Regions from separate parts of the Homo sapiens genome. Here region 2 is linked to region 1. Evidence: promoter capture Hi-C in 16 types of primary human blood cells and fetal thymus (Javierre and others, 2016). All regions are on one chromosome and are shown on one strand. Each heading gives the region's core, a stretch centred on a gene start or on the middle of the fragment in contact. The rest is flanking DNA. Distances are from core to core; before and after follow the strand shown. Region 1 holds the start of GXYLT1 (glucoside xylosyltransferase 1). Region 2 holds the start of LOC124902921 (a long non-coding RNA gene).

What was found. The method cuts DNA at HindIII sites, captures the fragments that hold promoters and counts their contacts. A CHiCAGO score of 5 or more calls a contact.
Region 2: a contact is called between a fragment that was not itself captured here and the fragment with the promoter of GXYLT1 in region 1, in 1 of 17 cell types (activated CD4 T cells). The highest score is 5.6, in activated CD4 T cells.

What each region holds. Positions count from the first base shown.
Region 1 is chr12:42,142,642-42,146,141 of GRCh38, forward strand. It overlaps GXYLT1 (glucoside xylosyltransferase 1), which reads right to left and starts at 2,233. Exons shown (of 8, transcript NM_173601.2): 1 at 1,785-2,233. The coding sequence starts at 2,005. RefSeq lists silencers at 1,621-1,850, 1,931-2,430 and an enhancer at 2,591-2,660. The HindIII fragment of the contact is 13,899 bases long and covers 1-3,500 here.
Region 2 is chr12:42,305,201-42,308,909 of GRCh38, forward strand. It overlaps LOC124902921 (a long non-coding RNA gene), which reads right to left and starts at 1,352. Exons shown (of 2, transcript XR_007063280.1): 1 at 1,274-1,352. The HindIII fragment of the contact is 691 bases long and covers 1,624-2,314 here.

The DNA.
Region 1 (3,500 bases), core at 983-3,482:
CCAAAAGTTGATTTAATTCTATGACATTTCTATAAAGATGTTATAAATGACGATATACAAAATAGAGTCCTGAGGTCTTAGTAATTTGCGTGATCTTAATCTAACCATAGAGTAAAACTTCACAATCCAACTTTTCCACGTTGTTCCCCTGCCCAAATGGTTTCTTATGCGCGCAAATGTGGTGACATGCTGTTCTTCATCACATTTTTACAAAGAGAGATAAATACACCTATAGTTCTAACTTAGATGTACGCCTCATTTAAAATAAAGAGTAATGCTACTCAAAGGACCTAAAAAAGTACAGTATTTCGGTTGACTCAATCCTGACACATAAAACTTAACGTTTCAGTAATGATTATATTGGATGTTTATTAAAACTGAGGCTATTTTCGAAAATTTCAAATAATTTTATTAAAATTAGCTGGTCAAGCAAACAAAATTTGTAAATTTCTGTCACAAAATAAAATATCTAAGACCAAGGCACTAAAAATGTGATGTTAACATCAGTCTAATTTCATTCAATATTTAATTAAAATGTTGCTTCCTTACAATTCTACCCCATATAAAAATAATTCCTTTTCCATAATTGCAAATGCTTCACAATAACATACTAGGCCATAAACAGTTTAGCTTCAACCTGTCATTTTTCACGAGCTCATTCAAGTCTTCAGTGACTGCTTTCTCCCAGGACAGACAACTGAGGGTCCTGATGTAGGAATTACCCTGACTGTAATCAAATCTCAGGGTAAAAACATGACAAGTCCGCTTTCCACGCTGCTCCTCTGCCCAAACTTTCCCCTTTCATTCTGGGAATGACCATCGACTCTCAAAATGATGTTAAACAACAGCCCACAACTGATCTATACTCCCTCTTCCGACAAACCCTATACTTCTCTATATCAAAGCAGCATTTGCCAAGTCTTGGTAGGGAGCACTTCAGGTCATTCCCAGAGAGATGCCCATACATAAGGTGGAAGTGTCCATGTTGCAAGGCAGTGCAAACGCTCAGATTTCAAGCATTCATAATGCGTTGACAGAAACATTTTTTTTCTATTTAAATCTCATGTTGATTCCCACTCTGGCAGTGATTACGTCCTAAGTCATTACGTCGCTTTTTAAATACCAATTTGTCAAGAAAGGTAACTCCATCCCATCCAACAACAGACTTGAGCACGCCAAGTATCGCTCATTTTTCTTAATTTGCTCTAAGTTTCTTAATAAACTGAGTGTTTCCAAAAGAAAATTTCACAACCCGCACAAATGCCATTTCCAAATTTAACTAACCATGGCTAATACTTAGAAGTGTAAGCGTTAACACAGGAAAATCAGCATGAGGGACAAAATACACACACATATACACTCACACACACACACACAATCCTTAAACACTGAACTAGGGCGCCAGCCTCATGTTTAAATATCTCAACTTGAACTCCACTGAAACAAGAGGAAATTCTCACTAGCCAGGCAGCAGTAAGGCTTTTGTGGACACCTCTTATTTTCAAAGAACCCTCTTTTTAAAAAGTTGAAAATTAATTTCTAACTGCTTTAAAGGGCGCATGACTGGGTCAAAAGATAAACACAGAAAGTGTAGGACACTCTCAGGCGGGAGCAGCGCAGGTTTAGCCCCGGCCGGAGGGGAAGGAGGGAAATGAGTGAGGGGTCAGAGACAGGAGGAAAGACGCGGGAGACGCGGCACCCACCGGCGAGCAGCCCGGGCTAGGCCGAGCCCGCGCCCAGCGCCCCGCGCCCGCCGCGTCCCCCACACCGGGAACTGCCCGTACCTGTCCGACACGCCGGGATGCGCTGCGGGGCCCGCGACGCCGGCGCCTCTCACGGCGCCGCGTCCGCCGCCCGCGAGCCAGGAAGCCACCGCGGCCTGCGGCTTCCCGCCACCGCCGCCCGTTCCTTCTTCCAGGGACACGGCGAGCTGGCTGAAAGCGTAAAGGAGCGAGCAGAAGCCGCAGGCCACACACAGCACCACGACGCGCAGGTAGCGCCGCATCGCCCCGGCCGCGCTCCTCCTTCGCCGCCGCCGCCGCGCCCGCCCCGACGAACTGGAGCGGAGGGAGGGGCACCGCGCAGCCGCGGGCGCAACAAGTTCCTCACCCGCAGCCGCCGCCGCCGCCTTGCGCCCGCTCCCTTCCTTCCCTCCCCGCCCACCACCTAGGCGAGCGCAGTCGCGGCTCCGGAGCCGAAGGACTACCCGCCCGGAAGCCTGGACACCGCCTCTGCCGCCGCGCGCTCAAGGGTCAGCGGCAGCGACGCAACCCCGCCCCTCCCCCGGGCGGGAGGGCTGGACGCGCCGGCGCAGTTCGCGTGGGAGGGACGCAGGGCTGGCGCGCAGAGGGTGGTGTGAGTGCGCGGAACGCGGCGCGCCTGAGGGCTATAGCTAGCGCAGGCCGACGCGCAGGTGAATGGGAGCCCTGTGGGTCTCGACCGCCGAGAGAGGGGGAGCGAAAGCCTCAGGGCTCTGGAGGCAGTTGACCTAAATTCTAATTATGGTCCTTCCACATGGTAGTTTGTGACATTGGGCAACCTAAATTCTCTGAGCATGTTTCTTCGTCCCTAAAATGGAGCTACTATCCTCATCATGGGGTGGTTGTAAAGATTAAACTGTTTAACGCTCGAAAACCGCCTAACACTTAGAAGACACTTGACTAGGCCAGTTTCCTCTCCATCCTCCCCCAGCCTCTAAGTTTCTGTGATACTATAATGTGCACGAGCCATTTTCACCCCGATAAGCTCATTGCTTCGTGTGTTTGGTATGCGGACCTTACCTCTTGCCTCCCAGCAGACAGTGAGTTCCTGTAAGGCAGGGCTCTTCCCTTTGACCTTTTTGACCTCCCTCACAACTCATTATTTTCATGTGCAAAACAATTAGTATTCTCTCCACAGAGCTTCTTTCTTCCCCAGTTCTTCTCCCTCTTCTTCTGTGTTTCCACTACGTTCATTCATTGACCATTTATAAAGCATCACTTGTGCCAAGCTCTGTGTGAGTACCTAGGGGTATAAAGAGGCCTAAGTGGAGCGTGGGTGGGACAGCGGATACTTGTAAATAAGCGCAACGCAGTGATAACAGACTTAAGATCCAGGCCTGTAAGGGTGTGGGCATACACACAAAGGAACAATCAGTTCTATCTGTGAGTATGGTCAAGAGAGACTTCATAGCAAAGGTGGCGCTAGAGTCTTGAGTCGGGTAAGGGAAGTAATTCCAGGCTGAAGGATCAATAAACAGGCTCTTGTGTAGGGAACTGTTGAGAAGTTTGATACCACCAGCTAAGTGAATGCAAGAGAGGGTATGATGAGCGATAAGCGCGTAGAAGGGGCCAGATATTTGAGTGCTTTGTTTAGCACACCAAGGAGTTTGAATTTAATCTGCAAGACATTAGTGAACCATTGAAGGGTTTTTAAATAGGGAAGTAACATGATCACAATTGCATTTTAGAGAGCAGATTCTGGCTGTAGTGTGGAGGCTGAAACAGAGAGAGGAGAGATTG
Region 2 (3,709 bases), core at 719-3,218, 160 kb after region 1:
GCATTCCAGCCTGAGCAACAGAGTGAGACTCTGTCTCAAGACGAAACCAAACAGAAATGGGAAAAGTTGGGAGTATAGCTGGTTTGGGAGACCAGGGATTCAGTAGTGGACAGATAAGTCTGAGACCTCATTAAACTTCTAAGTGGAAATTATTTTTAATTTTTTTAAAGAAAGCACTAGGGCATGATAGATTTAGTCTTTTAACTTTAAAATTTGTTGGTTATTCCAAAAATGTTTCCACCTACAGAAAAATCATTAAGATATAATAAAACAAATTGTTATTCTTATGCACGTAAAATGAAATTTAAAACCACCATCTCCTAGTTGATAAGGCAGTACTATATATATATATATATATATATATATATATTTTTTTTTTTTTTTTTTTGAGATGGAGTCTCGCTCTGTCACCCAGGTTGGAGTGCAGTGGCACGATCTCTGCTCACTGCAACCTCCACCTCCTGGATTCAAGGGATTTTCCTGCCTCAGCCTCCTGAGTGCTGGGACTACAGGCGCGTGCCACCATGCCTGGCTAATTTTTGTATTTTTAGTAGAGACAGGGTTTCGCCATGTTGGGCAGGCTGATCTCAAACTCCTGACCTGAGGTGATCCATCCCCATTGGCCTCTCAGAGTGCTGGGATTACAGGCGTGAGCCACTGCGCCTGGCCAGTCATATAATTTGAGTACTTTTTTAGAGAAGCATCATAGCATAGAGATAGTATATCGACTCTAGAGCAAGTTTGCTTGGCTTTATTTCTTTTATTTTTAAAAATTTTCTTTGTATAAATTTATGGGGTACAAGTGTTACATGTATATATTGAGTAGTGGTGAAGTCAGGGCTTTTCTTCTTCTTTTCTTTTTTTGAGACGGAGTTTCACTCTTTTTGCCCAGGCTGGAGTGCAATGGCCCGATCTCGGCTCCGCAACCTCCGCCTCCTGGGTTCAAGTGATTCTCCTGCCTCAGCCTCCCGAGTAGCTGGGATTACAGGCATGCGCCACCACACCCAGTGAGTTTCTACTTTTAATAGAGACGGGGTTTCTCCACGTTGGTCAGGCTAGTCACGAACTCCCGACCTCAGGTGATCCGCCCGCCTCGGCCTCCCAAAGTGCTGGGATTGCAGGCATGAGCCTCCGCACCTGGCCTTTTTCTTTTATTTTTAAATTTTATTTATTTATTTATTTTTGGTAAGTCATGCATAGGGCTTTTTTGTGTATCCATCTCCAAAATAACATACATTGTACCCTGCATTTAAAACGTTATCGTGCTACTTACTGGCTGTGTGACTTTGGGTGAATTACTTTGCCTCTCTGTGCCTTAGTTCTGTCATCTGTATAATGATGAAAACAATACCTAAAAGGGATTCAATTATTTCATATTTATAATGTGTTTAGAACAGTGCCTGAAACATAGTGCTAAATATGTGATATAATTTGTCTTTCAGATAATTTGTTAAAAGCCATTTTTAGTATTTAACTTATCTTAAATATACTTATGAGGCTCTAACCAAACTATACCATCTCTATGAAAAAACAAGATTATGTGTTTCACATGAAGCCATGCATCTTGCAAAGATGTGCTGATGAAAAGTGCAACATGCACTTCAGGAATCTGCTTTCTATAAAAGCTTTTATGTTTCTGGTCTGCTTATTTCTAGGTGCCATATCTTAACTAAAAATGTTAACTGGTTGTCTTTATCTATAGCAGTATATAAGGATTCTTAAAATTTGGATCTTATAGATGGAGTGTTTTAAAACAATTGATAGTGGCTTACTCCCATTCTCTGGACTGAGGGCTCAGTCTGACTGCCACTGTTCGCATTGTTAGTTTAAGTAATAGTGCTGATCACACTGCTTTCCAAGGAGGTTTTCACTTTCTTCCATATATATTTCTTTTCTTTCTTTTCCTTTTTTTCTTTTTCTTTTCTTTTCTTTCTTTCTTTTTTTTTTTTTTTTTTTTTTGAGACAGAGTCTCTGTTGCCCAGGCTGGAGTGCAGTGGCATGATCTCAGCTCACTGCAGCCTCCGCCTCCTGGGTTCAAACAATTCTCCTGCCTCAGCCTTCCAAGTAGCTGGGATTACAGGCATGGGCCACCACACCCGGCTAATTTTGTATTTTTAGTAGAGACAGGGTTTCACTATGTTGGTCAGGCTGGTCTTGAACTCCTGACCTCTGGTGATCCACCTGCCTCAGTCTCCCAAAGTGTTGAGATTACAGGCGTGAGCCACTGCGCCCAGGCTGAATCTTTATTTTCTTTGTGTGCTCTGCTCAGCCGTCTCAGTATTCTGCCCTGGGAAATGTTGAAAGGAGGGTTTTAAGCTTAAGATTCTTTTTACAGGATAATTTCCACATTGATTCCAAACTGAAAATAGATCCCGCGTTGCATAGGAACACTTTCACTCTATGTAGTCGGGGTGGGACTGACTCTCTTCCTTATTTCCAGGAATGGGGACTGTGACAGAGACCTAGCCAATCAGGGCTTTCTTGGAACTTTTGCTGGGACCACTGGGAAAGGGGTTTTCTTTGTTGGGATTCCTACCTTTAGAGATACTGGTGGTCATCTCTACCACCATATGAAGAAAGCTTGTTGAGAAATAAAGGAAGTACAGAGGAAAGCGGTGGTAAGACAAAGAAAAATAGATTTCTAATTATATTTTTATCTCTTTTATCCATTTCTGAAGCTGAATGACTTAGTTATATGATCCAATAGTTTTCTCCCCACTTTAAAAATTACATTTCCAGCCCTCCATCAATGATTGAACCTAAGTTACTGATCTATGGCATATTCTATGTAAAGCTTTCAAGTACTTTTCTAGGTATGGTAATCAAGGTTTTAATATTTAAGCATTTAAAACATAGTTTTTAATTTTTTAAATTAAAAACAGTTATTTTTTATTTTTATAAAGTCAGGGTCTCACTTTGCTGCCTAGGCTGGTCTTGAACTCCTGGCTTCAAGAGATCCTCTTGCCTTGGCCTCCCAAAGTGCTGGGATTATAGGCATGAGCCACTACACCTGGCCAAAAATATTATTTAAATTCACTTTTATTTGTTTTTTAGAGACAGGGTTTTACTCTGTTGCCCAGCTGGACTTAAATTCCTGGTCTCAAGGGAACCTCCCACCTTAGCCTCTCCAGGAGCTGGGACTACAGGTGCATGCCACCACACCTGGCATATATAAACACACATCTTTAGCATATAAAACAAAGGAATAAATTAACATGCAAAATTTATAAATGTCATATGTGGGCATAATTGAATTTCATGATAATCTGAAAACTGTAATTGACAATTTCAGAATAAGGCATCTAGTCAAAAAAGCAATGAGTAAATAAATGACTGCAGAAGGAAAAAAAAAAAACCCAAAAAACCATTAGTCATATCCAGCAAGAAGGGCATTCTCTGCTAGACAAGTACTTATTAGAAACTACCAAGTTGGCCTGGCACAGTGGCTCAGGCCTGTAATCCCAGCACTTTGGGAGGCCGAGTCAGGTGGATCAGTTGAGGTCAGGAGTTCGAAACCAGCCTGACCAACATGGTGAAACCCCATCTCTACTAAAAAAATAGAAAATTAGCCAGGCATGATGGCACACACCTGTAATCCCAGCTACGTGGGAGGCTGAGGCAGGAGAATCGCTTGAACCCAGGAGGTGGAGGTTGCAGTGAGCTGAGATCATGCCATTGCACTGCAGCCTGAGCAACAAGAGTGAAACTC